Regions from separate parts of the Homo sapiens genome. Here all the other regions are linked to region 4. The links are contacts of gene promoters, found by promoter capture Hi-C in blood cells and fetal thymus (Javierre and others, 2016). All regions are on one chromosome and are shown on one strand. Each heading gives the region's core, a stretch centred on a gene start or on the middle of the fragment in contact. The rest is flanking DNA. Distances are from core to core; before and after follow the strand shown. Region 1 holds the start of ZBTB14 (zinc finger and BTB domain containing 14). Region 2 overlaps THOC1 (THO complex subunit 1). Region 3 holds the start of USP14 (ubiquitin specific peptidase 14). Region 4 holds the start of METTL4 (methyltransferase 4, N6-adenosine).

What was found. The method cuts DNA at HindIII sites, captures the fragments that hold promoters and counts their contacts. A CHiCAGO score of 5 or more calls a contact.
Region 1: the fragment with the promoter of ZBTB14 here is called in contact with the fragment with the promoter of METTL4 in region 4 in 2 of 17 cell types (fetal thymus and total B cells); the score reaches 10.7 in fetal thymus.
Region 2: a fragment that was not itself captured here is called in contact with the fragment with the promoter of METTL4 in region 4 in 1 of 17 cell types (M0 macrophages); the score reaches 6.3 in M0 macrophages.
Region 3: the fragment with the promoter of USP14 here is called in contact with the fragment with the promoter of METTL4 in region 4 in 1 of 17 cell types (erythroblasts); the score reaches 6.0 in erythroblasts.

The regions. Positions count from the first base shown.
Region 1 is chr18:5,294,424-5,297,457 of GRCh38, forward strand. It overlaps ZBTB14 (zinc finger and BTB domain containing 14), which reads right to left and starts at 1,303. Exons shown (of 4, transcript NM_001243702.2): 1 at 1,229-1,303. RefSeq lists enhancers at 1-573, 574-1,260, 1,949-2,634, 2,352-2,511 and silencers at 702-1,641, 1,722-2,141. The HindIII fragment of the contact is 2,257 bases long and covers 449-2,705 here.
Region 2 is chr18:248,957-252,377 of GRCh38, forward strand. The region is part of intron 9 of THOC1 (THO complex subunit 1); the gene reads right to left. Among named protein-coding and RNA genes, the nearest start is that of THOC1, 17 kb to the right of the region's middle. The HindIII fragment of the contact is 2,075 bases long and covers 216-2,290 here.
Region 3 is chr18:157,128-160,473 of GRCh38, forward strand. It overlaps USP14 (ubiquitin specific peptidase 14), which reads left to right and starts at 1,430. Exons shown (of 16, transcript NM_005151.4): 1 at 1,430-1,587. The coding sequence starts at 1,572. It overlaps LOC105371951 (a long non-coding RNA gene), which reads left to right. Exons shown (of 4, transcript XR_935081.2): 4 at 1,016-1,042. RefSeq lists silencers at 1,102-1,371, 1,642-1,821. The HindIII fragment of the contact is 8,571 bases long and covers 406-3,346 here.
Region 4 is chr18:2,569,964-2,573,213 of GRCh38, forward strand. It overlaps METTL4 (methyltransferase 4, N6-adenosine), which reads right to left and starts at 1,542. Exons shown (of 9, transcript NM_022840.5): 1 at 1,186-1,542. NDC80 (NDC80 kinetochore complex component) reads left to right here and starts at 1,594. Exons shown (of 17, transcript NM_006101.3): 1 at 1,594-1,720; 2 at 3,014-3,123. The coding sequence starts at 3,023. RefSeq lists enhancers at 635-1,557, 1,440-1,599. The HindIII fragment of the contact is 2,186 bases long and covers 1,296-3,250 here.

The DNA of each region.
Region 1 (3,034 bases), core at 53-2,552, 2.7 Mb after region 4:
GGAGTGGCCTTAGACTAGCTATGACAACATATCAATGTGTTGTTGTTGTTTTGGCTAGTGTGTACTTGGCCACTCGCCCCTCTCCCCTCTCTCTCTCAAGATGTATGAGACCTGGAAGAGAGACCATGTGTGTCCAAAGCCGCCTCCTCCCCGCCCCGCCCCCCTTGCCATTGAGATGTCCAATTGCTCAGTTCAGGTGAGTCAAAACTGGAAGACAGCTGTTGCCAGCATCTGTGTAGGCAGGTGTAGGAAAAGACGTAGCCCCAACACCACCTTCATAATAAGGCTGCCCCTTCCTAATTGCTCTCCAAACTGCGGGCGCGCTAAGCCGCGTTACAGTGCAGGGAGCCGGGCTTCCCGCAAAGCCAAAAACTTACATAAGCAGCTGCAGCCGCCTCCCCTGCCCCGGGCAGCCCGACAATGGCGGCTGCACGACTTCCTTGTTGCAAGCTTGCAACTTCGGAGTCGGGAGGAAGCAGGGAGCCAAGCGCAGACCCAAGAAGCCCTCAAGGCGTATCGAGTCCTCCCTCTCAATTTCTTTGGGCCTGGGAGGTGGGGAGTGGAGGAGGCCGTTTGCACTCCTTCCCAGACAAAAGCTCCCAGCCTGGGAGCCAGGTGGTGAAAGGGCCACTTTCCCTTTCATAATCAGACGTCGAGCGCAGGCTTGGGACCGCGGCTCGGAGCGCGCAGGGAGGGACTGCGGCCCGCGGCGGCCCCGGCGGCGCGACGAGCGGGAGCGGGCGTGCGGCCGGCTCCGCAGCCCCGCGCCGCGCCGCGCCCCGCTCCGCCCGCGAGCCCGGAGCTCGCGCCCCGCGCACTCCCCGGCCAGCTCGCGCCGGGCCCTCCCCCGCCCTCCCGCGGCCGGGGGCGGGGGCGGCGCGCGGCCGGCTAACCCAAGCTCCGCGGGCGCACCCGGGAGTGCGTGCGCTGGGTCCCGGCCCCCTCCTCCGCCGGCGGCTGTAGGCGGCGCGGCGGGGCCCGCGGCTCGGAGGGGCGGCGCCCGGCGGGCCGCGCTCCGCGCTGGGTTCGGGCCGTCCCCACCCCCACCGCGGTGCACTGCGGCGGTGCGAGCGGGGGCGGCCATGAACTCGGCCGCCGAGGCTCTGCGAGCGCGCGCGCGGGGCCGCCGCCGCCTGGCCGCTCCCCGAGCCCGCTCGCCGGCCCGCGCGGCCCCCGGGGCGCCCCGGCCCCACGCCCAACCCTGGCCCACGCCCGTCCCCGCTCGCACCGCGCCGCGCCGCTGGCGGCCGCCGCACATCCTGGAGCTGGCTGGTGCCCCAGAGCTCGGCGAGAACGCGCGTCTTCCGGGCCGCCCCGCCAGCCGCCGGCCGCCCCCGCGCCCGCCTTGCGGACGGCCCCAGCCCCTTCCGCACCCTGGCCCGCGCTTACCTGCAGCCTGGCACAGGCACAGACACTGCCGTGGGTTCCCCGCGCTCGCTAGCAAACGCAGGCCGGGACCGGAGGGGCTCGGGGCGCGGGGGCACGGTGGGTGGCAGTGTGTTTTGGATTTTTTTTTGGAGTTTGGGGAGGGGGCGGGGTGGGGGAAATCGTGCACGTCCCTGATGGTAGCAGCCCTCCTCCTGCACGAGCACAGAATGTCTAGCCGGCCGTGAACACCCCCACCGCCCCCCCCTTCCCGTGCATGCGCGGTGCGGGCTGGGGGGAAGGCGCGCCGCCGGCTTGCGCAGGCACGGAACCCGACCGGGTCTCTAAGTGGGCGAGCAAAGAAAGGGTTAATCCGGGCCCTTGCCGACGCTTTCGTTGGAGACTACGGGGCCGCCCCCGGAGGGCCCTGGCCTGCGCACGCGCGCGCACGCGCGCGGCTTGGGGCGCGCGGAGCCCGCGCGCGGGAGAAGGAGTGGGCGGGGCAAGGGCGGGGCTTCGGGAGCCAGGGAACTTAAGCACGAGCGCTGCTCGCGGACACCCGCCCCGCCTCAAGCTCCCTCCCGCCCTGGTTCGTGGGCTTCCGCCCGCGCCCGGCGCCGGCGCAGCGCCGGGGACGCGGGAGCCAGCGCTCCCGTGCGTGTGCATGTGCGTGGGCCAGAGCCTCCCCCGGGCGCGCGCAGGCCGGGCGCTGAGGCTGCGGGGCTCTGCCGCGTCTCGGAGCGGGCGCCCCGGCCACTTTCGCCCTCCGCGCACACCGGCCGACACCGGGAGGCGCGCCCACGGGTCTGCGGTCTTGCCTCTTGCCGCCGGCACATTGAGTTTGTGGGGGAGTGGACGGTGCACAATAAACACTTGCAGAACAAATGGAAAAAGCGACGTCTTCGATTTGTAGTGTAAAGCGCAACCCCAGTTGCCCAGCAGAAAGGGATCACCCATAGGGCTTCGGAGCTAGTAGGTCCGCGCCCGGACACTCCAAGGAAAAGTCCAGGGGCTGGAGGCGGCGACCCGTCTGTGGCAGTCCAGACCCTGGACTCGATTCGGAGAGCTCTGATAACTTGGCTCTGTCCTTAACATCCCTGCTCAGCGCCAGTAATGGCTCCGTTGCTGTTGAACCACGTCGCCTTCCCTCTGACGCGGCGGCTGTGCCTGTGTCTGGCGTCGGGAGCTGGGAAGTCCCTCCCGCTCCCGCGTTTTCTGCTCACCGAGATGCAGGAGGCCGGACAGCAATGCCGCGCCGCCTTAGAGTCGCTCATGTTGCTTTACCTCACACGCGAAGTTTCCCCGAAACGCGTAATTTAATATCTAAAGATTAGAGCAGAAGCTTCCTCTTGGGCTTATTGAAGATGACATAAGATAGTGCTTGCAACAGGCACCTAAGTAAACATTTGGGAAATAATATGATGATTGGATGTGTTAATTTTCTAAAGGAAGTTCTATATGGCCTCAGTTGATTTTGTAATGTTAATTGACTTTGGTTTAACGTTCCCCAAGGCGACTTTATACGCATCTTTTTTGATGTTCACAAAAGCACCCAAGTTACGGCTTATATGGAGGAAATAGGATGGAAGAGACCGGTTGTAGAGTCAGACATATCCAGTTCACATATTGGGTAAATTGTTTAACTTCTCTAAACCTCAGCTGAAGGAGA
Region 2 (3,421 bases), core at 3-2,502, 2.3 Mb before region 4:
ATCCAGGATGGTCTCGAGTTCCTGACTTCATGATCTGCCCACCTCAGCCTCCCAAAGTGCTGGGATTACAGGCGTGTACCACTGCACCCGGCCTATTCTTTTAATTTTTAAAACAGCTAATATCTGATAAACGGCTAGTATCTGAAGCACGTGAAAATCAACAGTGAAGAATACTGACTTTTAACTAACAAAAATCTAAATCTAGTTCTTGCCAAAGCTTTCATCATGAATTAGTAGTATCTGAAAGACTCTAATGGGCATGTTTACTTTCGCTCTTCCTAAACTTTTCCCTAGTAACAACTCTGAAAGTAGGAAAACAATGATGTACACATTAACTTCTCTCTATAATTAAAGCAGCTTCACTGATTTACAACAGTAAGATTATACCTCTGGGTTTTCTATGAATTGGGTTTTTAAAAAAAGCCACAGGCTGGGCACGGTGGCTCACACCTGTAATCCCAACACTTTGGGAGGCTGAGGCGGGCGGATCACGAGGTCAGTTCAAGACCAGCCTGACCAACATACTGAAACCCCATCTCTACTAAAAGTACAAAAATTACCCAGGCATTGTGGTGCGTGCTTGTAGTCCCAGCTACTCAGGAGGCTGAGGCAGGAGAATCGCTTGAGCCCAGGAGGCAGAGCTTGCAGTGAGCCGAGATCACAGCACTGCACTCCAGCCTGGGTGACAGAGCGAGACTCCGTCTCAAAAAAGAAAAAAAAAAAAGCCGCAAAAAGAACATTCCCTAAAACGTTAAAGTAAATAGAGAAAAGAAATAGCACTATATAAATTATTTACATTCATGAAAGAACAAGAACCAATATTTGTATAGTTCCATACATTTGATAAAGAATGTTTCTGAAGTGCATGTGCACACACACACTGAGTAACAAAATGTTACTCAGTTACAACATGTAAGATTGAATATAATAAATACCTCTTGAAATGTACCAGGAAAGTTTGTCTCTTAAAAATGGGGCTACCTCTAACAGAGAATGAGACTCATGCAACCATTATATGTCCCTTTTTGTCTCAATTGCTAAGAACTTCACATCTAATTTAACACTTAATACCAATCACAATATTATTCCATGTTGCTAATTACCATCTCCTACCTGTAAAAGACTTTTGATCTCTTCCCTTTTATCTTTAATTGGCTTGGTGGGTATTTGAGGTGTCTTACAGAATAAATTTTGAAGTAGTGTTAATATCTTACTGTTAGGCAGTTTTTACAGTTGAGGCATTAATATATTTTTAAAAATTTAAAGTCCCCTCTCCTAGATGCTGTCCCTTGCTCTTTTCCTTCACAGCTGAATAAAATTCTTCAAAGAGTTGTCTATACTCCATGTCACCACTTCATTACCTTCCTGTTCATTCTTCAACCCACTTGCAATTTGCCTTCCACCTTCAACACTCCACAGAAACTTTTGAATTTTCTGTTTACCCACACAAAGCAAATGTAACCAATTATTGTATTTGCAAATAATAACAAATCAGAGACCCAGTTACTATGTAAAATAGAATGTCTTGTAACTATTTTAACCAAAAAAACTCTGGAAAACTTGATATATTTTTTTAAATGTTCAGCTATTTTACAGGATGTTATACATTGAAATTTCTTAACAAAAATGTTTACTGGTGTATTTGAGCCAAATCTGAAATGGACTTCATATTGTAGGTAGATGGGTAATGAGTTCTGCTTTGTAAATTACAGTGCCTAAGACCATCTGGTGATAACAGCTGTCACAAAGTAATTCCTCACGTATTTTCTCCCTCTATTCAACATTAGTGACTGTGACAGAGGCAGCTGAGTGTTGAGTCTTATTTAAGTGATTTACAAACATAACCAATAGGGATGAATTGTCTATACAGTCTTAGGCAAAATCTAAGCAGACAAAACTGCACTGGCCAGTGTCTTTTGGGCTGTTTACACTTCAGGTGACTCATCATCTTGTAGCCTACTAACTTGCCCCAGAGCCCTTATGTTGCTCAGGCCAGACCTTAAAGCCTACTTTATTCATGTATAATGAATAAATAGGTCTCTAAAAAAAAATAATAACGATAACAAATAATAGCTACTAGACACTGAATAGACAATATTCTAAGTGCTTTACACTTACCACTACATATAAACAATTAGTGCCTTAATAGACTATTTCTGATCATCGTCTTATTTAATCCTCTTAACTGTAGAGAGTAGGTGGCATTACTACATTTTAAAGATGTGGAAACTGTGTTGTAGAAGGTTAAGTAATTGGCCCCAGGTCACATGACTAGGAAGTATTGGAGTTAAGCTTGGAGCCACACTACCTCTAATGTTTCTTCTGGAGATGTGTTTGAATTTGAATTCTGGGATGCCAGAAATACATCTCCCTGGGCAGATACAGGAATCCCATCTTGATTTTCTAGACAGTAATGGAAATTCTTTCAATTATAACTAATGACTCTCATCACCTCAGACACCTGGAAGAGTGCCAGTGAAGGAAAATTTTCCTTAATGCCTTCTCTTTTCTCTTGCTCATTGCTTCTAAGCCAGCACTAGGAAGAAATTATGGAAAGTCTTCAAATAACGATGTTTCCTTCAACATTGTTTTATTGTAACGTTGATGAGAAAAAAAAAATCGATTCCTGGCTGGGGCCACGGTCTATGTAGAGTTTGCACATTCTCCCTATGTCTGTGTGGGTTTTCTCTAGGTAGTCAGATTCCCTCCTGCATCCCAAAGAGGTGTACATGAAAATAACTGGCATGTCTAAATGGTTCCAGGATAAGTGAGTGTGGGTGGGTGGGTATACACACTGTGAGCAGATGGCGTCCTGTACAGGGTTGGTTCCCGCCCTGCGCTCTGAGCTGCTGTGACAGGCTCTGGCCACCCACAACCTTAAATTGGAATAACTAGGCAAATAATTATCTTACTTGTTTTTATTAATCTTTCTCAAATGCATGTATAGCTCACATTTATTCAATGTTTAATAACAGAAGCATTTTGATCTTTATCTAGGAGTTTGGTGATTGTTTTTGTGACCAGAAATAGGCCATAAGAACCTAACTTTTGTTTGTTAGCCTATGGGAAAATTGATTTCATCATACATCATTTCACTTAATGTTGCAGTTTCTAGAACCTATCTATGCCACTGAGGATTGCTTTTGGAAAGAAAGCACAGGGCTACAGAGGAGGAGATAAGAAACAGTTTTAAGAGCAAGGGGAGAGAAGGAGGAAAGGCTTCTTAACTTGCCTATTTCATTAAAAGTTAGCCCAATACACACAGGCACTGGGTCCACAAGTTTAATGGAAGGGATTAAGGGGAGGAGCTCCTAAGGCTGCCTGTGGTTGGCTTTTCAAATGCTGGGATTATGCATAGGGTAGTCTATATAAACAATGAACTGTCTGCACATAATATAGAAACCAGCAGATAAAGCCCATT
Region 3 (3,346 bases), core at 180-2,679, 2.4 Mb before region 4:
CATCATCTTTTTGCTGGCAGAGGGCTTGCCTTAATGTTGATGGCTGCTGACTGATCAGAGCGGTGGATGCTAAAGTTTGGGGTAGCTGTGGCAATTTCTTAAAATAAGACAATAATGAAATCTGCCACGTCGATTGACTCTTCCTTTCATGAAAGTTTTCCCTGTGACATGCAGTGCTGTTCAGCATTTTACCCACAGAAGAACTTTCAAATTTGAATTTCTTTCAAAATTAGAGTCAATCCTGTCAAATTCTGCTGCTGTTTTATCAACAGTTCCATAGTTTATGATATTCTAAATCCTTTGTTGTCATTCAACAGTGTTCACAGCGTCTTCACCAGGAGTAGTTTCCATCTCAAGAAACCACTTTCTTTGCTTATCCATAAGAAGCGACTCCTTGCCCATTAAAGCTTTGTCTTGAGATTGCAGCAATTCAGTCACATCTGTGGGCTCCACTTCTAATTCTAGTTCTCTTGCTATTGCCACCACACCTGCAGTTGTGTCCTGAACTCAAGCCTTGAACCCTTGTGGGAAAAGACTTGTTGCCAGAGCAGTCAGAATACACAAAACATTGGAGTTAGCTGTTTTACACGGGGGTGGTTAGTGGCACCCCAAAACAACTAAAATAGTAATCATAGATCACTGGAACAGATATAATAGTATTTAAAAAGTTCAAAATATTGTGAGAATTACCAAAATGTGACACAGAGACACGAAGTGAGCACATGCTGTTAGAAAAACAGAACTGATGGACTTACTAACCCAGGGTTGCCACAAACCTTCAATTTATATATATATATATATAAATATATATAAATATATAAATATATATAAATATATAAAAATATATAAATATATAAAAATATATAAATATATATATATAGAACGCAATAAAATGAGGTGTGGGTGAAAAGAAAACTGAGGTTTGCAGACATCATACAGCTAGCTAGTAACAGCTGGGTTTCAAAACACCTCTGACTTTACAACCACTAATTTTATTTATTTTATTTTGAGGCAGGGTCTCGCTCTGTCGCCCAGGCTGGAGTGCGGTGGCACGATCACAGCTCACTGCAGCCTCGACCTCCTGGGCTCAAGCGATTCTCCCGCCTCAGCCTCAGACAGCAGGTGGGATACCAAGTTCCCACTTCATCTGCCGCAGGGCTGGGCCGCGCCAGGACCACGTGGCCAGTGCGCGCAGGGCGATGGGCGGCAGTGCGCAGGCGCGCACCTGCTGCGGTGGATGGGGCCCCGCGCCCGTCCCTCACTTGCTCCCTCCTTCCTTCCCGCCACCCCTCCACCGCCTTCCCCCTCCTCCCTCCTCTCGCCACCTCTAGGCCCCGCCCCGGTCCTGCCGCCCAGTCTCCTCGCTGCAGTCGCTCCGGAGCTGCACGGGTGTTTTGCGTGTTGCTGCGTCATCGCCAGTGGCCGGTTTGAATGAGACTCGTCGCACCGAAGCCGCCGCCACCACCGCGCCTCCGCCTCGGCCGCCGCCGCAGCTGCTCCTGGTCCCCGTCCCTTTGCCGCCCTCGTCAGGCCCAGCTCTCCTGCGCCGCCGCCTCCCGCCGCGCCCCGCCATGCCGCTCTACTCCGGTGAGCCCTGTCCTGGCCTCGCGCGCAGCACACCGGACCGGCGCTAGGCCTCCGCGTAGGCCTGGCCTGCACGGGCGGGCACCCGGCATGGACTGGGAGGGGCCGGGGTGGGGTGCGCGGGGCCGGCGGCGCGGAGATGACCCAGGCACCGTCCCCTCTCCCGGCTGGGTCGGAGCCCTGCGTGGCAGGGGAGCGCCGTCCCCCTGAGCCACCGATGGGTGGGGGGAGTGGAGATGGGGAAGCCTCTCAAAGTCGTGACTCTGCAGAATAGTTTCTGACGCTGCCCTGGTGTGCGGTGAAAGTGAGGGTGTGTCCTGGGGCGCTGGGCCAGGCTGGAGGTGCAGGGAGATTCCTTTGGGCTTCTCAGTGGTCGCCGTGGAAGGGAGCGGGGAAGAAGGGGAGGGATGGAGCGACCCTTCTTGGGGTTGCCAAGCGGCGTTCGCCGCCCTTCGTCGTCCTTCGCCCTTCTCTTGCCCCTTGCCTTTGTTCGACCGCCCCTTTGGTACCAGTTTTAGTTTTGTCCCGAGGCAGATTGTAAACCTTTTTGCTTCGTTTTCGTTTCATCAAACGTTGCATTGGATTTCTGTATCCGAAACGTGGTGTGAGCTTTCAGAAGTAGATGAATACACATATCCCCGGGGTGTCATTTCTTGATTGGCGTTTGACAGGGGCTTGTATTGTTTGCTTGCTGACAGTCCAGGGTACTGGCCAGGGATCACTTTTACTTAGGGAATGGACCTTGCTGCTCCCTAGCCTTATTCAAAATGGCACCTAAAATATGTGTGGTGTCTCCAATTGGCTGTAGGTGTGTGATTCGTTGACCATCCCTGTTTATTCTGTTACAGTTCCTTTATTGAAGATTCAGCATTTACAAAGCATGATACGAATCAAGAGTATTGTTTGATCTCAAGGTGGATTCTTGATGGTCTAGAATCTTGAATCGAATTCTTAATGATTGCCCAACCCCTTTCTAAAGCCATAACAACAGTAGAATGGCTCTTGAAATATTCTAATACTTAAACACACCAGTAGATTCACACACATAAAACAAAACCCCTCTGTTTCCTCAAAATGCCAGCGCTGACCAGAGTTTCTTTTTTAAAATTTGAGCTTTATCTTAAATATTTAATCAGATCTTTTCCTCATCCCCCAAATGAAGGAACTCAAGTAGATTTCTAAGGTCCCTTCCTTTGACCTCTCCATATTGAGAATCTGTATTTTGAGGGTCAGCAAAAAGCTCTATATTAAAATGAAGAGAACATTTTAAGTACTATTTCATAAGATTTAGTAGAAAATTAAGTATCTAGTCTGAGCGCGGTGGCTCACGCCTGTAATCCCAGCTCTTTGGGAGGCTCGAGGCGGGCGGATCACTTGAGGTCAGGAGTTCGAGACCGCCTGGCCAACATGTTGAAACCCTGTCTCTACTAAAAATACAAAAAATCAGTCGAGAGTGGTGGCAGGTGCCGGTAATCCCAGCTACTGGGGAGGCTGAGGCAGGAGAATCGCTTGAACCTGTGAAGCGGAGGTTGTAGTGAGCCAAGATCGCGCCATTGCACTTCAGTCTGGGTGAAAAAAGCGAAACTGGGTCTCAAGAAAAGAAAAAAAGAAAATTACATATCTAGATTATTAAATGGTTAAGGATAAGTGCAGTTAAAAATTAAAGCCAGGGGCCATGATGTATGCTTTTAATCCCAGCTACTCGGGAAGCTGAGTTGGGAGGATCACTTGAGCCAAGGAGTTAGAGGGTGCTGTGATCTGT
Region 4 (3,250 bases), core at 292-2,791:
GGTTTTGATATGGTGAAAAGAGTCACCAGGGTTATTCAGACACCCCGGCTGTCAGGGTCCTTGGTGGTTAAACCTGGGAAAAGGCCACATGAAGACAACTGTAAGCACACATGATCCCTCTGAATTGTTTTCTTTTCCTGCAATTGTGCTTGCTCTTAAAAATTGAAGTTTTAAACAGGGCTCACATGTGATCATCCTTCCATCTATTGGAGTCTAGCTTGAAATGTGACAACCGGAACCAAAAGAACCTTGAATTTGGTGCCTACTTTGGTTTTGGTGCTGCTGCTTCTCAAGATCCTCAGCAGGGATTAAGAAGTTGGGGTGCACAGCAGGAATATCAGGAAATTGGCAGGCTTGACTTCCTGGCAAATTGCTAGCAGGACCACTAAATGCTGAACTGTACTGTGAATGTATACCGAAATACAAGCAATTATTTCTGTACTAAAGGTGTTTTTAATTTTGTATTTGTGTAAAACCACCTTTGGAAGCAGCAACTATCTAGTCAGAAAAGCAAATGATGTTTCCATTAATCTTTTCTGGGGAAAACATTAGTGCTAAGGATTTAACAATCTGTAGGTAAAGTTTAACCTAACAGTATTCCACAAGGAGACTTTTTATTATCAGACGGTTGCCTAATTTTCATATAATTTTTATATTAATATAATCCTTGGTTCCTCCCCATCCCCTTCATAGGCCACAGCTGAGGTGAAAAGGGTCCTGGAATGGCTAGTGAGAGCTAGAAATTCAGACGGGAAAATTGAAACTCAGAGCAGAAAGGCAAGCTGCCCAAAAATAACAACGCTAGTTAATGGCACAATTGCTACCAGACCCAAGTATCCAGACTTCCTGGAGCTGTGAGATCTTTCATCACCACCACTCTCCAGGTACCGGGCAGTGCCTGTTTCTGGATTCAAACTCACAGCAGCGAGGAAATCCTATTTTAGCAAAGTGATCTACTGTTACTGTTGTTAGTGCACCCCTCTCCTGCGTCTCTGCTTCACATCCACTCCCTCGCCGCCCGCCCCCAAACACTTGGATTCTTCCTAGCCTCTCACAGGTCAGCCACCACCAGAGGACCGTGAGCCTCCGGCAAGTGATCAAATACTGAGCCCGAATTTCGGCAGCCGTACCAACGCAATCCTGGGAGCCCATTCCACCCACTCCGCAGCCCCTCTCCCACCTCACCTCTTCCCTTGTCAGAAAAGCGGACGCCGCCTTCCCAGACTCTCCTCATGAAAACAGCACCCATCTAAATAGTGATCATGAAAAATGCCCCTTCCAGTCCACAGAGAAAAAGCTTTCTCCTTTTCTAAGAGTCCATGGGCGCCGCCATGTTGCTGTACGGAAAAACGTTTCCAGGGCGAGTTGAGCGTTCAGGGCACTCCTCGGCGCTCAAGCTGCCCACAGGTCTTCCGACCTAACTTTAGGGGTCGTGCCAGTCTTCGTAGAGACGGCCACACTGGCCCACAGACCCCAGTTCCTGGGGTGACGCAGCTGGGCGCGACCAGCACGCAGCCTTCCAGCGACGAGGCGGTCGCATGGAAGTTACTGCGCGCGTCGTGCGTAATGACGTCAGCGCCGGCGGAGAATTTCAAATTCGAACGGCTTTGGCGGGCCGAGGAAGGACCTGGTGTTTTGATGACCGCTGTCCTGTCTAGCAGATACTTGCACGGTTTACAGAAATTCGGTCCCTGGGTCGTGTCAGGAAACTGGAAAAAAGGTGACTGAATGACATCGGATTAACTTTGTTTCTGCAGAGCTGTTCTGGAGGAAGAAAGTGATGGCGCCAATGACTTAAATTTAGAGGTCCTGAGGCGATGTTTTGGTGTTTGTTTGCTGTTGGGAGAAGCCTCGAGGCCAAAACTGTGCGAGGCGCTGGTTTCACGGGATCTATTAAATTTCTAGTGGCAACGATTTCCCAAGGAGGAAAGGGGAGGGCCTGGGGGACACTGATGAGGAGTGGAGGCTCGGGAGAGGAAACGGGGAAGAATTGAAGGGGGCGGAAAGAGATGGACAAGAGAGGACTCGTTGGGTGGGTTGCGTCTGAATACTAGTGTAGCTTCTTATGGCCGTGTAGGACTGCGTGTAGAAGTCTTCATCTTAAATCATGAGAGCTACATTCTAAGTGGAGATTAAACGTGGACACACAGGTGTGAGTGGAAAAGTTGAATAGATGAACAAGCGCATATTGAAGAGGAAATAGGCGGCCAAAATCAAGAAGAGTCTAATCAGTGTAAAAGACTAAGGAGTACCCAGAGAAGTAAAAGGATTGTCACCTTCCTGAAAGCCAGGGCAGGACCTGAGAAGGCTGGGTGCAGAGATGAGACAGGATCAAAAGTTTTGTCAATCATGTGTATCCTAGGAGACAAATTTTTTAGCAGATGTGAAGGGAGTGACCTGTTAATGTGGTTTGTAAATGGAGGCAGCCTATAGACCATTTTATGGACCGGATGATTTATCCTTGTTGAAGGGGAGATTGATGCCAAAAGGGCAGTAATTGAGGAAACAATGGGTTAAGGACAGAGCAGGAGAGATTGACATTAGGAAAACAGAATAATTCCATTCTCTGAAACCAAAGAAAAGGAAACATTTTGAGGTGAATAAGAGAATTTGAGGTAATTTTTTTGTCTTCCTATTGAAATAGGCACAGCCAACAGCAGTAATGTGGTCTGGGTAACAGACAGGGCTTTAGCTACCACGGATACCCTTGTGAAGGCAAAAACCGTAACTTACTCGTCTTTGCATCTCCTGCATTGCCTAGCACACTCCCCTATATATATAGTGGGCAGTTAATAAATGTTTATGTTGAATATTTTTAAATGGAATTAAATAGATGTTCCTTGCAAATGAGAACTTCAGTGTACATGAACAAAAAAGAGATACCCCAGGGGAAAGATGATGATCTTGAAGAAACAATGAAACCTGACTGTCTTTCTGTTTAAGGATAAATAGTTGCTTAATGTACCATCTCTGTCTGGAAAGTTTTTTTTAAATACTGAATTCGTGAATGTAGGTCATAAGCATGAAGCGCAGTTCAGTTTCCAGCGGTGGTGCTGGCCGCCTCTCCATGCAGGAGTTAAGATCCCAGGATGTAAATAAACAAGGCCTCTATACCCCTCAAACGTGAGTATTTCCCTTGTGGTTCTAATTTGCATGCTTTATCATCTTAGGCAAAGAAATCATAAGAAATAGTTAATATAAAGATGTAATATGAGTGATGTCTTGGTGAATCTTGTCTGTTCCCAGGGGT